Linked DNA regions of Homo sapiens: region 1 is linked to region 2. The links are contacts of gene promoters, found by promoter capture Hi-C in blood cells and fetal thymus (Javierre and others, 2016). All regions are on one chromosome and are shown on one strand. The core of a region is centred on a gene start or on the middle of the fragment in contact, and the rest is flanking DNA. Distances in the headings are between cores, read along the strand shown. Region 1 overlaps PHEX (phosphate regulating endopeptidase X-linked). Region 2 holds the start of PTCHD1 (patched domain containing 1).

Region 1 (4,086 bases), core at 103-2,602, 1.2 Mb before region 2:
CTTCTGGTTTAACCACATGTCCCACTTCAATATAGGTCACTTTTTACTTATTTTGTTGCCATTATTTTTTATCAGGAGCCAATCCAAGGGCATTTTTATAAATAGTTATAGTATAAGTAATTAATTAATGAATATTTCATATTTATTGGTGCATTCATTTATTTAATGTCTGTGTTTCTAGTAAAGTGACAATTGCCAGAAAGAAAATTTTAAGAGTCCCCCTGAGATTAAAGCCTATTTCTTCAGGGTTATCCACATAAATTATTAACAACGATTTCCATTTTTCACATTCCACCAATCAGTGGTTACAACTCAAGAAAACTTGCCCTGTTCTAGAGCAATGAGAAGACTGGAAACATTTTAATCTCATGGTTTTTTTCCAGATATTATAACTTCTAAGTATGTTAAAGAGGAAAGCCTACTCAACATTATGCCTTTTCGTTAAGAATTTTATTAACATTAAATTAGTTTAAGGTTAATGCCCATAATCAACCTTACTGATTTTTTTTCTTTTTCCTTTCTTTTCTTTTTCAGAACTCCTAGCCTATAATTATTCCTACTAGATATGTACTATATTTTTAAACCATTCCAAGCTGTTTGTCATGTACCATGTTGACATCACCTATCTTAGAATGGACTAGGCTAACTTACAGAGTCACTTGATTTCCACTAAAGTTTGTGTTTGGTAGTAGGCTACAGTCATTCTGGAGACATTTGCTGTGAACCTTGTCCCCTAATATAACGATGGATTTTCTATTCACTGATAAGTTCTACTCATGGATTCAGGCTTTGAATTACTAAATCAGAGTAGGTCTCTCTTTTCAAAAATGACTTCACCTAAAAAGGGTACCATGCATTTTTTTTTTCCCTTTTTCAGCTTTCATGTTGTTAAATCTCATGATCATATCTGCACAGCACCATATTTTCTATGAGTGAGTTTGTTAATATTTTCTCTTTATACTATTGGAATAACTGTTATCTGTTAGCATATATGAAAGATATTTGATTCAATTTCAACTCTGCTAGGTGCCAATTGAAGGTTTCAAAAAGCATAAATTGATCAGCTTGTATTTACTGAGCATCTGCTATATTTTAGTATTAGGTATGAATGTGAGATATGGACTCGTGAAAAATCATATCACATGAGATATGAAATCATAAAACTAACAAAATTTTAAATTAGCAGAATACTTTTTTGTTTGCTTACATATTCATGATCTCATTTGATCTAAATCATGGTTCCTGTTCTCAAAGCTTATGGGTCTTGTTAGGGAGACCAAATAAATATAAATGAAAAGACAACAATTAAACACACACCTATGTATTATTCTGATTTTAAGCCTCACAGGAACTCAGAGAGGGAATTGAAAGTGTGGGTTTAAGTGTTTGGGATTCATGGGTATGAGATAGGATTTGAGTTGCCTTGTGGGATTTCTTTATTATCAGGGACAAAGCTTTGAAGAAAACTACAACCGATCATGGGGCAAACTAATCCCTCCTTAAAGCAATGTTGGCATATGTCCCTTCAAATGTATTAATAGAACCATCATGACTCATTTATGCAAAGTACAGAATTCTTATGTCTATGTGATGGGAGGAAGGGTAAGGAGAGGGCAAGAGGAGCAGGAGAGATAATTTATAATTTGCTAAGATAGGAGCATCTCATTAAAGTAAAGCCCTGGATTGAAGGGTAACAAGTGCCTATGCATATGTGACTCACCAATGTCTGGTGTCTGATGTAGAACTCTATGGGCAAAATCCTGGGGTGCAAAGAATGAAAAAGGAAGAACCTATTTTTAGATAACACTGGTTGAGGAAGAGAACTAAGAACTGCCCATAGATCAACCAAATGAACTGTATTTTTATAGTGTGGATCCATAAAATCTGAAATAGTTGTTTTTTTTTTTTTTTTTTTTTTTTTGAGACAGAGTCTTGCTCTGTCACCCAGGCTCGAGTGCAGTGGGGTGATCTCAGCTCACTGCACCCTCCACCTCCCGGGTTCAAGCGATTCTTGTGCCTCAGCCTCTCGAGTAGCTGAGATTACAGTTGCCCGCCACCATGCCTGGCTAATTTTTGTATTTTTAGTAGAGACAGGGTTTCACCATGTTGGCCAGGCTGGTCTTGAGCTCCTGACCTCAGGTGATTCGCCCACCTCGGCCTCCCAAAGTGCTGGGATTACAGGTGGGAGCCATTGCGCCCTGCCCCTGAAATAAATAGATATTTAACAAAACGTTGCTTTGCCTAGAGGGCTCTTACCCTGAATATGGCAGATTTTACCAAAATAACACTTGAGTTAATTTTTATATGTTATATTTTGACCTTTGACTGGCTCTAAATAAATATTTCCTATGGATAACTTCACCTTAAGACTTCCACTTTAAGGGATTTCTATTAATGTTATATGCTGCCTGGTTGAGGTGTGAGGTCCAAGTTTGGTGAAGAAATACTATTTCTCTATTTTTTTCTTATTTTAAAATTACAGCAGGTTTTTGACTTGACTGAAGGCAATGTTATTATGTGATGCTGTAGAGTAGTCTAAAGATAAAAATCAGAAGTGTTCAGTGATTTATCTTCCTAGTTCCAGCATGCTAAAATAATTATTTCTCTTATTTGCATTGACATGTCAACCAATGAAATTAATCACCTTCAAAGATTTTCCTTGTTCTTGAAGTCTGCTGGGGTAGTTCAACACCATTTCACAGAAAATGTTATACAATAAATCTGTAAAGTCTGCCAAAAAAAAAAAAATTGAGAACCTGAGGTGGGGGATGGTGTGGGGAGTGGAGGTGCCAGAGAAGACAAGGGCAAAGAGCAGCTGAGGCTCATGGGAAAAAAAAAGTGATTTACCCGCGTTTTGACAAATGTGAGAGGGCCACAAAGAGTGAGTTACCGAAGTGTGGATTCAGGGAAGACAGAGGTGGTGGGGGCAGGGGAGGAGGTGGAAGAAAAGGCAGAGGAGGGAGGAACTGGCATGTGAATAAACTATTTGTCATTTTTCACTCTGGCAGTGGGCTGAAATGTTTTTGCCTCTTTTTATTTTCATTTAGAATGCCAATCAATGGGTTACAGACAAAGAGCTTTGAAAACCTTTTCTTATTTATTTATTTAGAGACGGAATCTTGCTCTGTCGCCCAGGCTGGAGTGCTGTGGCGCGATCTTGGCTCACTGCAACCTCCGCCTCGCGGGTTCAAGCAATTATCCTGTCTCAGCCTCCCAAGTTGCTGAGGTTACAGGCATGTGCCACCACACCTGGCTAATTTCTTTTTTTGTATCTAGTAGAGACGGGGTTTCACCATGTTGGTCAGGCTGGTCTTGAACTCCAGACCTCAGGTGATCCAACCGCCTCAGCCTCCCAAAGTGCTGGGATTACAGGCGTGAGCCACTGCACCCGCCCTGAAAACCTTTTCAAAATGCATTAAATTTTAATGAATTTGATAGCCATTTTAATGCCTGGGAGATGCTGGACAGGGAGGGTCCTATGAAACCAAGCTGCTTAGAGAGAAGTATCTGGAAACACTCAGCCCCATTTTAATAATAGCCACATACTCCATAAAAATACCTCAAAGAGAACAGGAGCAAAATGACCTTAAGATTCATCATAGGAATCCAAAAATTCCAAAATTTGCTGAAGATCTTTTTAGCTTGGAGAGTGCTTATTTTTTTGATAATTTATTTTAAAACCTAATAAAATGTTTTGCTTTTGTACACCTTGTCCCAAATAAATATTTTCTTTGGACATATTCAACTTTTTATTATTTATTGGGTGCTTTCTATTATTGCTACATCCTGGCCAGGGTATTGAGAGGGAACCTTTTATTGTCCTCTTTGTCCCTATCTGTAAATATAGTAATCCCCCCTTATCTGAGACAGATACTTTCCAAGACCCCCCCCAACCCCCGCCCAGTGGATGAGACTGGGGATAGTACTAAACTCTATATATACTATGTTTTTCCTATGCATATATAACTATCATAAGGTTTATTTTATAAAGTAGGCACAGTAAGAGATTAACACCAATAACTAATAATAAAATAGAACAGTTATAATGATATACTGTAATAAAAGTTATGTGAATGTGGTCTCTCT
Region 2 (4,092 bases), core at 801-3,300:
TCCCAAACCGCGACTTGCTGTTTCCAACGTGCAAGTTCCCAAGTTCAGTTTGAGAAGTGAAGGGCCGCTAGGTGTAGGGGAGTCTGGAATGGGAACGTTAGGGAAATGCCTCCCCGAGGCGCATTCTCCTACCCATTCTCCTCTTTCTTCCCCCCCCCCCACTCCCCTTCCTCTTCCTGTCCCTATTCGTCTTCCTTCAGCTTTGATTAATATGCATGTCTATGCTCCGTAGTGCGGGCCACCGCCTCCCGTTCGACCCCTGGCACTGGGAGACTGAGCTGTAGCGACCAAAGGCTTGGGATGGGGAGGCTGAGCGCTCAGAGCGCGGAGTCTGAGGACCCCTCGCCGCGCCCTGTATCCCACCCCCCTGGCTGGAGAGAGCGCCTCAGTGACCCAGACTCCGAGATCCCGCTCGGTCTGCGTTGCAGTGGACAGACCCAGGAGCTTGGAGCGCGAAATGAAACGCGCTAAATTGTACCTGTGCGTGGCCGTTCCCGCCGCCGCCGCAGGTCTATCCCGGGGCCGAAGCCGGCGCCCGCCTTCTCGGGGAATTCTCCGGAGGGGGAGTGCGAGGGGAACCACGGTGACTGCCTGCTAGCTCACGGCTGGCGCGCACACGCACACGCCCAACTTTGCCAAGCCGTCGGCGCCCCGCGGGCTCCCCCGCGCCCCCTGCGGCTCAACACGCTCGGAGACCTGTATCTCTCCTGCTCTGAGATAAGGTTCCCTCCACTCTCACACCTTCGCATGTAGGGGAGGAGAGGGCGGAGTGAGGCAGAGAAGGGGGTTAATGCTACTGACTCCCTGGCCAGCCTTTCTCAAACACTCTACGCCCGCAGGGGCGCCCGCGCCAGCCACGCCGCACCAGGTCCCCCAGACCTGCTGGTGACGACAGAGAGAGGAGGAGGAAGAGAAGGCAGGGCGAAGAACCGGGAGCCGGGGAGCCCCGGAGCTCGGGAGCCCGGGAGCCCAGGCGACGGACAGTTCCATCGACTGACCGTCATTATCAGCACTTTTATTACTAAAGGACTGGGTGGGAGGTTGGGGGGTGTGCAACAGAGCTGGCCAGCCCCAATCCACTCTGGAGCGACCCTAAATTAGAGCCACAGAGAAAGATTCTCCACGGATACCTTTTGAGTGGACGTGCTCCAGACACACACCCGGACCCCGTGGTCCCGCCGAAGCTGCAGTGTTGGGGGTATTTTAAACGGTTCTTATTTGGAAGGAGGCGTGATTTCCACGTTCGAGCGTCTTCGCTCCCCACCCCCTCTCGGCACCAGCCAGTGCGCGCCACCACCTGAGCCTGGCGAGAGCCGGGACGCACGCAGTCTTCAGCCTGCTCCTTTAAGCCTCTGGAGAGACTCGGCTCTGAGCGGGTCCGCCCGACACCCGCCCCCTCCCCCCACTCCTGAGAACTCTTTACTTTTTGTTTGGAAAATCGGGGCCATTTCTTTATTTATCTCTGGGTCTTCCCGGAGGAGGGCAGAGAAGGGGAGAGCGAGCTTGGCGGGCCGGACCGGGGGAGGGGAGCGAAGGGAGGGGAGGGGACTGGGTGTAGCCTGGAATTCTCCGTCCTCGTGTTCCTGGGCGGGCGCGCAGAGTCTCCTGGCGATAGCGCCGTCGCCGCTCCCCGCGCCACCCCGTCGTTGGCCTTGGGGGTCGGGTGAGTGGGGTCATGACGAGCCGCGGGGGCTGCCCCGGGCCCCGCCCGCGCTGAGAGGGGACGCGGCCGCGCGGCGCGGAGCCCCCCTGGCGGGGAGGCCGCGGGGGGTGGGGAGGGCGCACGCGGTAGGGCGGAGTGGGGGCGGCGCAGAGGCCGCCAAGCTGGGGGGCTCTCCGGGAGGGCGCGGCCGCGGGCAGGAGGGCGTGTCTCCGGCTCGAGGGGACCCTCCCGAGGCGCGGCGCGGGACTCCCCGATGGTGGTGCCGCGGCTCCGGGAGAGCTCAGGGTCTCGCCGCCGCCGCCGTCGCCGCCGCCGCGGGCGCCGCTGCCGCCGCCGCCGCCGCCGCCGCCGCCGCCGCCCGAACCCGCGCCGAGCGTGCGCCTCGCCCTCCTCCCGCGCCCGCTCTGCTCTAGGATGCTGCGGCAGGTTCTGCACAGGGGCTTGAGGACGTGTTTCTCCCGGCTCGGCCACTTCATTGCCAGTCACCCTGTCTTCTTCGCCTCGGCGCCGGTGCTCATCTCCATCCTGCTCGGCGCCAGCTTCAGCCGCTACCAGGTCGAGGAGAGCGTGGAGCACCTGCTGGCGCCCCAGCACAGCCTGGCCAAGATCGAGCGCAACCTCGTTAACAGCCTCTTCCCGGTCAACCGCTCCAAGCACCGTCTCTACTCGGACCTGCAGACCCCCGGGCGCTACGGCCGGGTCATCGTCACCTCCTTCCAGAAAGCCAACATGCTGGACCAGCATCACACCGACCTGATCTTAAAGGTGAGAGGGGACGGGTGCGGGCAGACTCCGCCAGCGCCGCGGCCGCGGTCGGGCTGGCTCTGCGCTGGGGTCCCGGCTGAGAGCGCCACCTCTCCTAGCCCAGGCAGCTGCCGCAGGGACTCTCCTGCACCGCGCGCCCCAGGGCGGCCGACTGGAGCCTCCCAGCCTCCTGGACAAGGAGCGTCGGGGTCCGGGTCCGGCCCTGCCCGCGTCGCCTCTACCGCCACCCCGCAGCTGCTGCAACAGTTGGGGCGGCGGCGGCCACAGTGCTGTGGTCGGTGCGCTTGTTTTGGTCGCAGTGGGCTTGGGGGTGGGGAGGCTTTGGGGTAACTGGGCCAGCAAGGAGCAGAACGAGAGAAGACATTCTGGAAAGTCCTACTACTTGAGAACAAAATACTATGCTTGGAGGGGATTCCGAGATACCCCTCCCTGTCCTCAGTTTTGTTTCTCCCTTTTTCTGGCCCCCCGGAGTGTTTGGGGAACGGTTGTTGGTGTGGGATGTTGGGAAAGGACAAAAGAATGTGAGGCGGGATGGTGATGAAGATGCCTCCCACCCACCCAGAAAGAAGTGTGGTCTCTGGCGAGGACAGGGGGCTGCCCTGCTGCTCTCTTCTCCGGAGCGAGGTAGCCATCTCTATCTTCTAGGGTATGAAATTATGTTTGTAATTCGCAGTTCCTTCGTCTTTCACAGTAGCTCCTCAAGAAATGCCAAAACTTTGGGAAAAGAGGGAACCGATCAATCCACTTTTATTTGGGTGCATCTGAGCATGGGGGTGAGGGGCAGAGCCCGAAGGGTGAGAACAGAAGCCAGGCTGTGTGACCCCGAGAAGAGCACAGGAAACCGAGCAGCTGGTTAGAGGGTGACACTCGCAGAAACCGGTTGTGCCATCAGCTTGAGGTGGGAATTTGATGTGGAAAGTGAGGTTAATGGTGGTAACTTTCAGGAACTTCCTAAGAAAAGCAGAGGAGTGAGGACTAGAGATGGAAAAGTGGAGACCTCGGGAGAGAAAAGTAAAAATAGGTGAGAATGTTCCATCTGAATCCCTGATGGGGACTGTGGGGCTTGTTTACTTAAGGTTCTCCTTTGGGGAGGGCAGACAAGAACCAGTCCCAGCTGGGACTCTGGTGCAGAGGGATGGAAGGTGATCGTTTTGTGTGAGTCTCTAGTCCAGATCTGGTACTAGAGGCTGGTTAGATTTCTAGTCTACTTATCCCAAGGGGAGTCTGCCGGGAAACCTGGGGAACTCTTTCCTCTTCTTTTCCTCTACAGGTAATAGTTTATCCCTAGAGACAAGCTAATTTTCATTATTTTCCTATGTCCGTTTGTTGACATGTTATCAATTAGCAATTAGTAATGAGGGGAATCTGACTAGGGGCTCAATGGAATTAGGATCTTCCCACATGGAGTGGCTCATGATATTTTTAATGGCACACATCACACATTTACTCATCACAGAACCTTAATAACATTAATCCCGAGATGTTTGTTTTTCTCATGATTAGACTTCCAGCATCAAAGTGGTTTTCTTTTTTCTCTCAATACTTTAGTGACTATATTTTGGGACACAGATAAATACTGCTCCAAAAGCTTTCCCACGAAAACACATAGTAGATTCATCATGGGCATAAGGAAACTGTAATTTAACCAGTTCTGACAGTTGGAA

Evidence for each region. The method cuts DNA at HindIII sites, captures the fragments that hold promoters and counts their contacts. A CHiCAGO score of 5 or more calls a contact.
Region 1: a contact is called between a fragment that was not itself captured here and the fragment with the promoter of PTCHD1 in region 2, in 1 of 17 cell types (endothelial precursors). The highest score is 5.5, in endothelial precursors.

The regions. Positions count from the first base shown.
Region 1 is chrX:22,124,969-22,129,054 of GRCh38, forward strand. The region is part of intron 11 of PHEX (phosphate regulating endopeptidase X-linked); the gene reads left to right. Among named protein-coding and RNA genes, the nearest start is that of PHEX-AS1, 46 kb to the right of the region's middle. The HindIII fragment of the contact is 200 bases long and covers 1,253-1,452 here.
Region 2 is chrX:23,332,799-23,336,890 of GRCh38, forward strand. PTCHD1 (patched domain containing 1) reads left to right here and starts at 2,051. Exons shown (of 3, transcript NM_173495.3): 1 at 2,051-2,428. The coding sequence starts at 2,078. The HindIII fragment of the contact is 10,599 bases long and covers 1-4,014 here.